Regions from separate parts of the Homo sapiens genome. Here region 1 is linked to region 2. The links are contacts of gene promoters, found by promoter capture Hi-C in blood cells and fetal thymus (Javierre and others, 2016). All regions are on one chromosome and are shown on one strand. The core of a region is centred on a gene start or on the middle of the fragment in contact, and the rest is flanking DNA. Distances in the headings are between cores, read along the strand shown. Region 1 overlaps PDYN-AS1 (PDYN antisense RNA 1). Region 2 holds the start of TGM6 (transglutaminase 6).

What was found. The method cuts DNA at HindIII sites, captures the fragments that hold promoters and counts their contacts. A CHiCAGO score of 5 or more calls a contact.
Region 1: a fragment that was not itself captured here is called in contact with the fragment with the promoter of TGM6 in region 2 in 1 of 17 cell types (M1 macrophages); the score reaches 5.4 in M1 macrophages.

What each region holds. Positions count from the first base shown.
Region 1 is chr20:1,969,698-1,973,858 of GRCh38, reverse strand. The region is part of intron 3 of PDYN-AS1 (PDYN antisense RNA 1); the gene reads right to left. Among named protein-coding and RNA genes, the nearest start is that of PDYN, 22 kb to the left of the region's middle. The HindIII fragment of the contact is 154 bases long and covers 1,645-1,798 here.
Region 2 is chr20:2,378,770-2,382,891 of GRCh38, reverse strand. TGM6 (transglutaminase 6) reads right to left here and starts at 1,991. Exons shown (of 13, transcript NM_198994.3): 1 at 1,917-1,991. The coding sequence starts at 1,923. The HindIII fragment of the contact is 23,923 bases long and covers 1-4,122 here.

The DNA of each region.
Region 1 (4,161 bases), core at 472-2,971, 410 kb after region 2:
ACAAGGGAACGTTCTGCGTCCCTGTCAGCGAATGGCACTCTCCAAAGTGAACATGAGAGACGGAGGTACCAGGAGGAGTGACATGGGAGCTTTTCTTTCTTGAGATCAAAGCCCCAGTCACAGTGTTCTCTCCTTAATACACAGCCACAGGCATCAGGACTCTCAGACACTGCCAGTGGTAGTGGTGGATGGCATTTAAGAAACTACCAGCCTGGAGCCCTCCTCTCCCCACTCCCGTCTCAGCCTTGAAAAATGCAGCCTCATAGTTTGAGCTTTCGGGGAGAAAAATCTCTGAATTGGGGCTTGCTTTACATAAAAGACAGATCATTGGAAAGTGTATAAATCAAAGTTTGGCAAATCGAATTGTATTTTAATCCACTGGGGAATGTTGCTATTCAAGGTCCTCACTGATTTTACAGATTGCAACAGTATCTGTTGTCCATTTAGGAACATTGGTAAAACCCAGAAATGCATCAAGAAGTTTCCCATGAAATTGATCAACAGTCAGAGGTTCAGATAAGATCATTTATGGAGCCCCTGCCCGGGCCAAGGCACAGTAAGGATTAACGCATTAATGGGGATAAATTGGAGATGAGCGCATGACCTCTGTGCTCAAGGAGTTTGCGTTCAGCAGGAAAGACCTCGCAGAGCAAATAACTATGGAAAATAAAAAGAGTTACTTTGGGAAGACTGAACAGCAAAGGTTGATGCAGGTGTCAGGAGCAGAGACCTGGCCTGGCAAGGGCTGAGGATTCCTGAGGAGGTGACTGAGACCTGCGGAGGGGCAGGACAGAGCTGGTGTGAGTAGCTGTGAGCGCAGGGAGGGCTTTGGTGGCTGGGCAGAGACACAGCAGGGAGCTTGATCACACAAGACCTCTAGGCCGTGGTCATGATGTGTGGACTCTGTCTCAGGAACAAAAGAAGGATGTGGAGAAGTTCAAGAGAGGTGGCATGGTCAGGTGTGTCGAATAAGAGTTTTCTAGAACAAGCTGAGGTATACGCATTTATACATACGTCTCCAACAAAGAAAATAAATATCATCCTTGATCTCACCTCTCAGAGTTAGCTATGATTAATATTTTAACATATATTCTCCCAGGGTGGTTCTTCGGTGTGTCTCCGAACACTGGATGATATGCCTTTCTTGTTTAACATTATAATGTCTTAAGCATTTTTATGCAATCATTATAAGTGTCAATTATAAATCTGCATAATCACAATAGTTTACAAACTGTATATACCATGGTTTACTTCAGCATTTCCTAATGAACATGGTAGTTTGCCTAGAATGTTCCAAGGTTGTGCCTTTCCTCTGGTGTCATTATTAATAGCACCTCATTCACTTTTGGAAGAGTTCTGGATGAAAAATTATATGGTCACCCTTCCTATGGGATAAACATTTGAGTTGCTTTCATTGTTATTATTATTATTATTGCATCATAAATAACCCTGTGATAAATATATTTCAGCTTGAAAACCAAATCATCACGTCATTGCTCCAAAGACTCTTAGAATTCATGTCGTGTTTCTTAAACTTCAGACATCCACATGCAATCTGTCACAGCCGACACTATCTTTTAACATTTTTCTTTAATTCGACTTACTTTTTTAAAACCATGAATGAGCTGATTTAAGAAGGAAGCTTAATGTTATTACCATGAATGGAAAACCAGTATTATATTCCATTAATAGAAGTGGCATAACAATGAATTCAAGCAACAATTCAAGGAACAATACCATGAGGAACCAGCTCTAAGCCGAAGTCTGAAGTCTGGTAGGGACAGGACAAAAGGAAGCTTTGCAAGCATTAGAGGGGTGTTAAAGACTTACTAGTCTCAGATGGAGCCTTTATCTTTAATAGAATTGGAAGGCTTTAAAGAGCATTGAAAACTTCCTCCCTCTGGGGTCCCAGGTGGCAGGTCTGCACCCAACATCACCCAAGGGAGTTGTATGTGTTAACAGCTAAGGTAGCCTCAGATCAGGACAGCCTTTATGCAGCACGGTAATGGGCTTGGAATTTACTCCTGCATTTTAAGCATAAGAGTGGCACAGTTATACCCCCTTACCACATAATAAAAGCTGCCCAGGCGCCAAGCCCTGGGCTATCAATTGATGCACCAAGTCACTCTCTAGGAGATGAGACAGGAATAAGCAAAGAAAACCCCACTGTAAGTGTATATACATTAAGGGCTGTAAGAGCTTTAATTTTTTTTTTTTTAATTAATAGGCCAGGCGCAGTGGCTCACGCCTGTTATCCCAGCACTTTGGGAGGCTGAGGTGGGCAGATCACTTGAGGTCAGGAGTTCGAAACCAGCCTGGCCAACATGGTGAAACCCCATCTCTACTAAAAGTACAAAAATTTACCCGGGGGTGGTGGCGGGCGCCTGTAATCCCAGCTACTTGGGAGGCTGAGGCAGGAGAATTGCTTGAATCCAAGAGGCAGAGGTTGGAGTGAGCCGAGATCGTGCCACTGCACTCCAGCCTGGGTGACAAGAGTGAGACTCTGTCTCAAAAAAATAAAATTAAAATAAAATAATAAAACAAAAGACTTCATTTTTTTTTCGAGACTGACTCTCACTCTGTCACTCAGCCTAGAGTGCATTGGCATGATCTTGGCTCACTGCAACCTCCTCCTCCCAGGTTCAAGCGATTCTTCTACCTCAGCCTCCCAAGTAGTTGGGATTATAGGTGCAAGCCACCATGCCCGGCTAATTTTGTATTTTTAGTAGAGATGGGGTTTCACCATGTTGGCCAGGCTGGTCTTGAACTCCTGACTTCAGGTGATCCACCCGCCTCAGCCTCCCAAAGTGCTCACAGGCGTGAGCCACTGCACCCGGCCCATTTTTTAGTTCTGTGTTTACAGAAAACTCGAATGAAAGTTCAGCGAATCCCCGTACATCTCTTCACCTCCCCCCAACACCTGCAGTTTTCCTTGTTATTAACATCTCGCATTAGTGTGAAACATTTGTTACAATTGATGAGCCAATATTGATGCACTGTTACTGGAGTTCACTCTTTGTCCCGTATATTCTATGGGTTTTGAGAAAAACCCGTAATGACATGTATCTACCTTTACAGTAACACAGAGAATAATATTAAAATACTAGTCCCACTAATATATAATATATAAATATGCTTTTATATATAATATCTAATATATAAATAAAAGTCCCACTGTCCTAAAAATCCTCTGTGTTTTGCCTATTCATCCCTCCTTCTCAAAACCCTTGGAAACCACTGATCTTTGTACTCTCGTAGTTTTGCGTTTTCCACGATGTCTTATAGTTGGAGTCACGTAGTGTGTAGCATTTTCAGATTGGCTTCTTTCACTTAGCAATATGAATTTAAGTTCCTCCATGTCTTTTTGTGGCTTCATAGCTCATTTCTTTTTAGCGCTGAATAATATTCTGTTGAGGGACGTTGCACAGTTCATCCATTCACCTCCTGAAGGACATCTTGGTTGCTTCCAAGTTTGGGCAATTATGAAGCATGCTGCTATAAACATTCATGTGTGGGTTTTTGTGTGGACATAAGTTTTCAGCTAAGAACTATTTATTAAAGTTATAATTTCATTGTGATGCTATTATTACTGTTGATGGGATTGGCTGCTCTTCTGATGATATAGTCAGGGAAAACTCTGGGGAGACGACATTTAAAATAAGACCTAGCCGGGTGCCGTGGCTCATGCCTGTAATGTTAACACTTTGGGAGGCCGATGTGGGCGGGTCACGAGGTCAGGAGATCAAGACCATCCCGGCTAACACGGTGAAACCCCATCTCTGCTAAAAGTACAAAAAATTAGCTGCGCGTGGTGGTAGCAGGCTCCCAGCTACTTGGGAGGCTGAGGCAGAAGAACTGTTTGAACCCGGGAGGCAGAGGTTGCAGCGAGCCAAGATCGCGCTGCTGCACTCCAGCCTGGGTGACAGAGCGAGACTCTGTCTCAAAATAAATACATAAATAAAATAAAATAAACTAAGACCTGAAGAATGGGGAAGGAGCGGCCATGAAAGAGCTGAGGGGAGGGCACCCCAGGCAGAGAGAAGAGCAAGAGCAAGGGCCCAGAGGTGGGAGCACTGCTGGCCCAAGGACCCTCAGAAGGTCAGTGAGGCTGGTGAGGACTGCAGGAGGTGAGAGCCGGGCAGGCCCTAAGGCCACAGTGAG
Region 2 (4,122 bases), core at 742-3,241:
GATCAACTGGTACTTAAAGAGCTGGGTTGAGCATTCTGGGGCCACATCCAGGCTCCAGAGGGAAGAGCTCTGGGGTCAACTAGGGATGTCCACCATGGATGGAGTGAGGGAGGGGGGATAGAAGGAGCTCCAGGAAGATGAATACACTTTCCATCTAGGATCTGATGTCTCAGTCATTCAGGCACAGAGTGTGTGGTAGGCAGGACCTACTGCTCTGAGGAACAGATCCTCCCAAGAAGCCAAGAGGACCCAGAAGACCCAGGAATTGAATCCAATCCAACACATAGTCCATTTACATAGGCATGACAACTCCAATGCTGACATTTCACAGACGGAGAAACAGAGCTTCAGAGAGAGGAACCCAGCAAGTTAGTTACAGACCTGACAATGGGCATCATCATCAACTTTTTTCCTTCCTCAGAAACTAACCTTCGCACTGTCAAGTTTAAGTCTGATAGGTTATCAAAGGCCCAGGGAAGAGGGATCATCTAGGTGAACTTTGAGAAGCAGATCTTGGAGGAACAAAGGCAATCCCCTCTGCACCAGGGCCATCAGGGAGGCAACCCCAGCTCTGGAAACAGGCAGTCTGGGCTGTGAGCTGGTGTTGGCAAGGCCTGGTCTTCAGAACAGACCTATCCTAGGAGCCTGAAGGGCCCAACACGTCCAGCAATGCTGTTAACTGCCAGGAGGAAATATGAAGAGGAAGCTAGACTATGATGAGGAAATTCAAATATCTGCCTTTGAAAGTTAAAAAAATATTTGATTCATAAAACTGTCACATAATGCTGAACAATTAAAACTGGCAGACACAGACTCAGAAACACCCCTTGAATACCTGTGAGTGTAGGACCCCTGGTTCTGCTGACTTGCTCATTACCGGGCCCCAGCATCTAAGACAAGTTCTTGCAGAGGGAGTTTGCTGCTCACTATATTGAGGTCGTGGGGGACACATTATCTTACTTTCTTTTTTTTTTGAGACAGGGTCTCACTCTGTTGCCCAGCCTGCAGTGCAGTGGCACCATCTTGGCTCACTGTAGCCTCTACCTCCTAAGCTCAAGCGATCCTCTCACCTCAGCCTCCCAAGTAGCTGGGACTTTGGGTGTTCCCCACCATGCCTAGCTAATTGTTGTATTTTTTTGTAGAGACGGGGTTTTGCCACATTGCCCAGGCTGGTCTCAAACTCCTGAGCTCAAGAATTCCACCCCCTTCAGCCTCCCAAAATGCTGGGATTAGAGGCGTGAGCCACTGTGCCCGACCCACATTTTCTGAGTCTACTGTTTACAAGTCCCCACTTGAGATGTGTGGTGGGAGAACAGCACACGTGGTCTCACCAACTCCTCACAGCAAGGCTGTGAGATAATTTGCATTATAATCCCCATTACACAGATCAGAAAACAGAGGTACCAAGGGCAAATTTTCTTGCTCAAGGTCATATAGCTGTTTTCACTTGAGCCAGAGCTGCTCTTGCCCTCAAGTGCTTGGGGTGGGAATCAGGCGAGGATGCAGCCGGTGGGGGCCTCTCACTCCTTCCCACGCAGGCCACAATTCCCAACTATGCCCAGAAACGTCTCTGGATCCATGGAATGTGCATGGGGTGCAAGGAGATTTTCTTTTTTCTGCCCCTGCCTTCCTGTGCCTGCCTCCTTCAGTCCTCCGAGGCACAGGGGTGAGACCTGGCCCCAGCCCAGGAGACAGCGCCTGAGCCAGCCTGGGCCATGGCCTTGCTGGGTGGCTTAAAGCTGGCTTTTTCATCCTGGGCCTCATGAATCCACACGAAGAGTTCATGTGTTCATGGTGGACTATCCAGCTGTAAAATCCTAACAATCGATGATCAAACGTCATCCCACAGACCCGTGTTTCTTGAAGCCCCCCTCATGAGCCCTGGTGTCCCAAGGCCCCAGGCTCTGCCCACTTACCTGCCATGTGAAGGCCAGCTGGACTCCTCTGTTCCTCCACACAGCAGTGTGTGCACCGTCAGGACAGTGTGGCGCGTCACAGCAGCCAGCCAGACCAATTTTAACAAGGAAAACCTTGGGACACTCCTAGGCAGGAAAGTCAGAATTCAAAAGAGGAGGCGTGGCCCTCCACCCTAGCAGCGACACCCACGAGACACAAAATCATCCTGTAATTGCACCTAGAGGGGTTCACTGTGGGAGTGGCTCCTGCCAAGAGACCTTGGAAACACGGAGTTGCGAATGGGACTGTGGAGAAACTGAGGCTCAGAAAGGTCACAAGCCTGGCAAGAAAAAGAACGGGGAAAGAGAGAAGACTGAGGGAACTCGGATTTATGGTTGGCCATTCTTAGCCCTCACAACAACCCTCAAATGAGAAAAAACAGGCTCAGCGCCAGGACCCCGAAGTACATGGTTGCACGCTGCAGTGCCGGGTCAGTCTGTGGCTCCCTCTCCCCTCCTGGGTGAGAGCAGAAGACTCCTGGGCCCACAGCTCCACTCTGTTCTGCAGGCATCTAAAGAGGCAGAGGTCCATGATCCTCCTTCAGGGCCACTAGACTTCCTTGGTGGACACTAGACTCTTGAGAGGAGGTAGATAAGAAAAAGGGGAGAGCTGGTTCTGACTCAGAAGCTAGGCCCATCTGCCCTGACTTTGTGAGTGGCCTCCAGCCAGGAGCTTAGAGGCCTGGTGGCCATGGGTGTCCCGTGACCTTGGACAAGACCTCTCCCCTCCTGGAACCCTGGTGTTTCTACCTACAAACTAAAGGGATTGGACTCAATTATTCTTCAGGGCCATTCCAGCTCAAAGTCTAAGATTCTGGGCTTGAAGGTGCTGGAATTCAAGGCATCTGAGGTCTTTTGTTAATGAAATAGAGGGGATTTTATTTTCATGGAAGCCGGTGGGGTAGGTTTCTTTTTGCCGGAGAAATGCTTTGATGGATGACTTGGGGCTATCGAAGGCTGGATGTGGCCTGGGCCAGTGAGGAAGGGGAAGTGGGAGGGGGTAGAATCGAGGGAAAGAGACAAGGAAGGGTAAGGAGACAACCGTGTGCTGAGCACAGTAGGATGAGGCCGCTCCCTGGGATCACCCCAACATTCAGGAAACTGCATAAAAACCCCAAAGTGTTTGATGTGGTTGGATTTCTTACAGAAAGTGGCAAAGAGGCTGAGTTCTGCTTCCTGGTTTCACGCAGATCAAGCGTCTTTAATGAGCTGTCTGCAGACCCACATAGCCTTATAATTACTGACATCTGGCAGCAGCCCAGGGCAGCTCCTTCCTCAACACCCTGCAGGCTGCTGCCCTGTAGACCCTGGGCCCTGCTGAAGCTGCTTTTCTGCCTATGCAGGGTCAGGCTCCTCCCCACTAATGATGGTCTTATTCAGGGCCCTTTTATCTTTCATCCTGGGCTTGCTTGGACGGGAGCTCCCAGAAGACAGGGCATCAAAATCACTGCCTGCCCCACTGCTCGAGACCCCAAATAATAATTCATACTCCTCGTTTTTTTTTTTTGAGACAGGGTCTCGCTCTGTCACCTAGGGTGAAGTGCAGCGGCACGATCTCAGCTCGGTGCAACCTCTACTTCCCGGGTTCAAGCAATTCTCCTGCCTCAGCCTCCTGAGTAGCTGGGACTACAGGCGTGTGCCACCATGCCCGGCTAATTTTTTGTGTATTTTAAGTAGAGACAGTTTCGCCATGTTGGCCAGGCTGGTCTCAAACTCCTGACCTCAGGTGATCTGCCCACCTCAGCCTCCCAAAGTGCGAGATTACAAGTGAGAGCCACTGCACCCGGCCCATACTCAGTTTAGAAGTGAGCATCATAGCCTGGCAGTAGAGTCCTGGGTTCTGTTATCTCTGGGCCAAACTGGCTGTGTGACCTTCAGCAGGTCACTTACCTTCTCTGGGCCTTATTGCCTTCATCTGTAAAATACGGGTGTGAACTAAGTGTTACCAGTTCCAACATTCTCTGATTCTGATGATCAGGCTAGAGATGACAGACGGGAGCCAAAGCCTTGGGCGGCTCAGGGTACCCCAATGCCAGGCATAAAGTGGGTGCTTCACAAATTAAAATCTGTGCCTGGGGAATAATCAGATGCTTTAAAAGCAATTTAATTGTTCTTCTGGCTATAGAGATAATACATACTCAGGTACAAAATTCAAGCAATACAGGGA